Regions from separate parts of the Homo sapiens genome. Here region 1 is linked to region 2. Evidence: promoter capture Hi-C in human tissues and cell types (Jung and others, 2019). All regions are on one chromosome and are shown on one strand. Each heading gives the region's core, a stretch centred on a gene start or on the middle of the fragment in contact. The rest is flanking DNA. Distances are from core to core; before and after follow the strand shown.

Region 1 (2,700 bases), core at 95-2,594, 680 kb after region 2:
ATGCTATAACTTTTCCAAATTCAAAGAACCAGAGAAGTCACAGTTTGAACTAAATCTGACTCCAAAGTCTATGCTCTTTGTGCCATCCTACCAGGCTGCCTACCCAAGTGCAAGGAGATCAGAACAAATAGTTGGCTGGATCATTAGACACAGAAAGGATATATGTGGCAATAAAGCTTGACAATGAGGTTGGAGCCAGGCTCTTCAGAGCTTTGACTTGGGCACTGTGGGGGTGTCTCTGGGCACTGGGGTAGTCAGCATGAGGTCATCAGGTATGGAGGATGAGGGGGAAGATGGTTGGAAGGCCAACAAATAAGAAGAAGGACCATCTTTTTCTACTTCACAACATTGCCTAAACTTGATGTTAGTAAGAGACTTCTGAGGATATGCAAACTTCTACCCCTATGTGACCTTCAGGAGAAGGAACAGGATACCTGAGTCTGGAGTTCCAGTAGGTCAGCTTCCTCCAGGTTGATCTACTGGAAGTCTAGACTCCAACACGGAGGAAGTCACATGTGCTTTACTCACTCACTGCCTGTCAGCATCATCGTCCCAGAGAATGTCTGTTTGGTCACTGCCACCCTTACTTCATCAGGGCACCTCAAAAAGTTGGAACATTCCTTAAGTTGCAGGATATTTTTGGAGATCTTTGCAAAGTCAGTCAAAATAATCAAATCACAAGGGCTTTTAGATCAGGGAGTGAAAGTAAATTTGGGAATGAGGAAGCTTTATGTTTTTTTCTCTTTTATTAAATTAAACTTAAAGTCACAACTTCTAAAATCTAAATCATGGAAAGCTAGTGCTGAAAGGAATGCCCCTGATCTTCTAGTGACTTTTAAAGATGAGAAACTGCCATCTAAGGAGATTATGAAACTTGCTTAAGTTGGCACAGTGCCTGCCTGCCTGGCATTAGCACTCTGTCACTGCACGCTGAGGCCTGTGCTGTTTGTGCTACTCCACAGAGGGCTTCTTTCTAACTTTAGCACGTGGCAATTCATGCTGGCACTTAGCCCAGAGAGCAGTGGAAACATTTATTTACCCAGGAAACTATGGTCATTGGGTCATTTGCCTTCTGACAGGTTTTCTTCCAGAGCATTGCCCTTAAGCACGAAGGGCACTAATTAGCTATCACACCACGAAGAGTACAGAGAAGGGGGAGAGCTAAAGACTCCTGCTTCTACCCAAGTCAGTGCCTCTCTCCATGTGCTCAGCACATTGAACTCATATTGTTCCTGCAGCCCAGTCCCTGGCAGGGCTCAGAATGACTCTCCATTCTTCCTATGCTGCCTGTTGGTTTTAGCTGGTAAGGCTTGTGATTATACTTGTAATAGAAGTAGGGAATTCCTCGTCTGTGTGGGCAGGTGCCAATGGAATATGCTTGACTGAAGCTACCAGTGTGCCAGGAGAGTGGGAAACAGGAATTCCCCTACCCAGGGCATAAAAACAAATCCGTCTTCACATTTTTGATTAGGACGTCATGCCAAAATAAGCTTGTGGGAAGAGCCGTTGTTCTTGGCAGGCATAATAGGCTTTTATTTTTTTGAGATGGAGTCTCCCTATGTCCCTCAGGATGGAGCGTAGTGGGGCGATCTTGGCCCCCTCCCAGGTTTCAGTGATTCTCCTGCCTCAACCTCCCAAGAAGCTGGGATTACAGGCATGTGCCACCATGCCTGGATAATTTTTTTTTTTTTTTTTTAAGCAGAGATGGGGTTTCACCATGTTGGCCAGGCTGATCTCGAACTCCTGACCTCAGCTGATCTGCCTGCCTCAGCCTCCCAAAGTGCTGGGATTACAGGCATGAGCCACCGTGCCCAGCAGACATTTTTTTCTACTTTCTTTTTTAGTAGATAAGACAAACAAATGGCACAAAACTTTTTAAAAAATTAGACCATGAAAAGTAGAGGTCAATCCTACTCCTGACCTCAGGCTTCCAATTTTTTTCTCCAGGGACAACATTTGCAACTAGTGTCTTGTGTATTCTTTCAGATACATTAATGTATTGTATATTCTTTCAATGCCCACACAGGTGTTATTATTATTATTTAACACAAATGGCAATATATTTTATGTATAATTCTGCACCCCCCCCAACTTTTTTTTACTTAAGAGATCTCGGAGTTGGTTCCATATTGAGCTTATTTGTTCTTTTAACCACAAAAGTACTGTAAAAGTTTTATCTATCAGGTTTCCTGTCTTCACTGTTTTACTTCTCTTTTAGCAATTGAATACTGACTTAATTCAAGTTAGGTTTTTAAAGCTGTTGAAGAGAAAGATCCAATGTTTAAAAAAGCTACACCAAATATATTGAGCTCTGTAGGATTGGGACAGTTTTTATTGCCTTTGTCCCCTGAAAATAGGATGCTTTTACTCCTGCGTTAAAGTGAAAGACCAGACATGCAGGAAGCTTCCAGAACTCCCTCCCAGTGCATTCTGGGAGTCTGTGGCCATGATGGATTGATTGAACCAGCATTCTCCATGAGGGAATCTCTATGACTGAATAGGTTTCTTAACAATATGACTATAGTGCTACGTTATCCAAAATGGGAAATTGGGGCACAGTGAGACAAAACAGTATACCAAAGAAGAGTTTGGCAGAAATGCGGACAGATCTCAGACGCTTGCATGAAGGAGCACAATAGTCCTAATTTATCTTAAGAGATATTATGGAAAAGCAAGGGGGAAGGTGGAAGTCTAGGTCCA
Region 2 (2,700 bases), core at 90-2,589:
ATAAAAGGACTAATATCCCACATGAATGTAGGCTAATATTTCTAAGCTTAAGAATCAGAGCCCCCCCCACAAAAAGACTTTGGTTATAGGGCTGTGAAGCAAACTCTAGGAAAAATCCCACAGCTGTGCCAGGATTCAACCAAGATGCAGAGAATGTGAAGTTCAGTTGTCAAAATTAGGAAAGCTGGGTAAATCTGCCAAATTCGAAGTTGGCAATTCCGAGGTGGTGATGAATACTTCCATCCTGAAACTTAGTTCTCCAGATCCGATGAAAAAATACAGCATTTACCAAGTATGCCAACATTTTTCCATTAAAATATTTTTAAAAAATGGCTGAAACACTAAACCTGAAGCTGTATACAAGATAGTTGAAAGTACAGTTTCAACTACTGAAAATAGTTTGTATAAATCCGAACAGGAAGACATTTACTTAAGCCCAATGTGCGTTCACTTATCTATATATTACATAGTTACACCACACCTGAAACTTCAGGAACTTACTCTGCCAAGCTCACAGTACTGCCCCGCATTAACAACACACTTATTAAATAGGGAAGTGTATACACTGTTTTCAACAATCAACTTTAGCCAATCTGACCTTTTTCCAAAGCGTTATTGTTTGTTTTGAAACTTTTAATCCAATAAGAGCCTCTGTCGATGCCATCATGAATTCAGATGTGTTTATTTTGGAGCCTACACCAGCGCCTTTTTTGTTTGCTCTTTCCGGCAATTCCCCAGTGAGGAAGCCCCTGGAGGAAAGTCTTTCGCTACCGTCGGCACTGGAGGGGTGAGAGCTGTAAAAGGGAGAATTGGGAACGGCATGGGGTTGGCCACTCCAGCACTTGAGCAGCTTTCTTCTGCGTTAGGAAGCCTGGGGAGAGGGGAACTGGCTAAAGGGCAAAATGTCACTGAGGAACTTCGGAGAAGATGGGGACAAGGCGTCGGGCGGGGGAGCCAGCGCTCAGGTGAGAACTAGGAAGGGGGCGGCGCCCAGGGACCGGCTCCAGGCGGCGGCGGGCGGGGAGCTGCCAGGAGGTGGGTGTGCGTATCTGGGTGTGTCCCGGCTGCGGTGGGGGAGGGGGCCGCCCTTCCCGGGGTCCTGAGGGAGGGGCCCCGCGAGGGGGCGGGTCCGGCAGATCAGCCCGGCCGGGGGCCAAGGGGGTGGAAGGTCGCCCGGTGCCTGGAGGCGGGGTGAAGGAAAGTAGCTGAGCGCCCCAGGAGCGCGCTGCGGCGGAGGGCGGGCGAGGTGACCCCGGTGCAGGGAAGTGGCACTGGGGTGTGGGGCCCGAGTCCAGTCAAGGAGCAGCACCTACCTCCGGGGGTGGAAATGGGCCGGAATGGGCCGGAACACCGTCCCGGAAGTGAAATCCCCCACCCCCTCCCACGGAGCGGGCGACGTGCCGGAAGGAAATCACTCAGCCTTACACCGCCCCCCCTTCCCCCATCCCCAGAGCTTTCCTTGCCTCGCGCCCCCTCCCCTCTCTGCTCTTCCTCCTCAGTCGGGAGGAGGGCGGGAGCACGGCATCACGTGGACGGTCATGTCTCTGCCCACAATGGCGAGGAAGGGCGGGGAAAAGGGGCGGACTTAAGGGGTGGGAAGAAGGTGATACTGGATGAGAGGAAGATTGAGGGAGGTTAGGGGGAGGAGCCGAAGCGGACGCTGCCGGGAGCGTGCGTCGTGACGTCATCAAAAGAACTCTTATATACAGGAGCCCAGGCACCATACTGTCTTTTCGAGGTAGGAGTCGACTCCTGTGAGGTATGTTTTATCTTTGCGAATGTTGCGGGTTTTGGGGCGCTCCAGCCTTTGTCTGCTAAGGTCACCCTGAATTGACTGGGACTTCTAAGCCAGTCGCGCGCCTTTGCAGGGCCTACAAGTTGAGGATGGTGGGGGATTGCACATATGGTGCATGCGTGACCTAAGCTGCGACTATGTTAGAGTAGAACTGCGGAGAAGCCTCGGCTCTCGTGCCCTGCCTCTGATGAAGCCTGTGTTGGTAGGGACATCTGAGAGTAATGATGAATGCCAACCGCTCTGATGGTGGCACATGCCGAGTCACCCGAGTAAGCTATTGTTAAGGGCCGTGACCCGAGCCTCCATCAGCCGTCCGCTCTCATGAAAGGCTGTCGGTGGTAGTCCACGTGCTTAAGTGCCTGCATTCCGCAGTGTCACCAATATTTCCATTAGTGTTTCTTTTTTCTTTTTTGAGACCGAGCCTCGTTCTGTCACCCAGGCTGGAATGCAGTGGCTCGACATCGGTTAATGGCAACCTCCGCGTCCCGAGTTAAGCAGTTCTGCCTCAGCCTCCCAAGTAACTGGGACTACAGGCGCGCGCCACCATGCTAGGCTTTTATATTTTTAGTAGAGACGGGGTTTCACCATGTTGGCGAGACTGGTCTTGAACTCCTGACCTCAGGTGATCCACCAGCCGTGGTCCCCCAACATACTGGGATTACAAGCCGTGAGCCACCGCGCCCGGCCGCCATCGGTGGTTCTTAACTGCGGGTGCAGTGCTTCTTTGTAACATTAAGTGTATCCTTTACCTGTCGCTAGATAATGAATGGTATGTTACCTGCATCATTGGTTTAAAAAGACGAACCGTTTTTTTAAAGAACACTCTTTAAAAAAAAGAACCGTGGAACAATGAATTAAAATCTGTACCTGATCTCTTTAGGTATGGTGCTGGGTGCAGATGCAGT

The links. Contacts are between HindIII fragments. The study calls those that stand out against the background at their distance.
Region 1: a contact is called between a fragment that was not itself captured here and the fragment with the promoter of ZBTB37 in region 2, in 1 of the 25 tissues and cell types used here (bladder).

What each region holds. Positions count from the first base shown.
Region 1 is chr1:173,189,045-173,191,744 of GRCh38, reverse strand. All of the region lies in intron 1 of TNFSF4 (TNF superfamily member 4), which reads left to right. Among named protein-coding and RNA genes, the nearest start is that of TNFSF4, 17 kb to the left of the region's middle. The HindIII fragment of the contact is 4,071 bases long and covers 1-2,700 here.
Region 2 is chr1:173,867,019-173,869,718 of GRCh38, reverse strand. It overlaps ZBTB37 (zinc finger and BTB domain containing 37), which reads right to left and starts at 1,339. Exons shown (of 5, transcript NM_001122770.3): 1 at 1,314-1,339; 2 at 599-794. GAS5 (growth arrest specific 5) reads left to right here and starts at 1,730. Exons shown (of 12, transcript NR_002578.4): 1 at 1,730-1,759; 2 at 2,676-2,700. It overlaps SNORD74 (small nucleolar RNA, C/D box 74), which reads left to right and starts at 1,974; the gene lies at 1,974-2,045. RefSeq lists an enhancer at 61-1,260 and a silencer at 895-1,304. The HindIII fragment of the contact is 7,781 bases long and covers 1-2,700 here.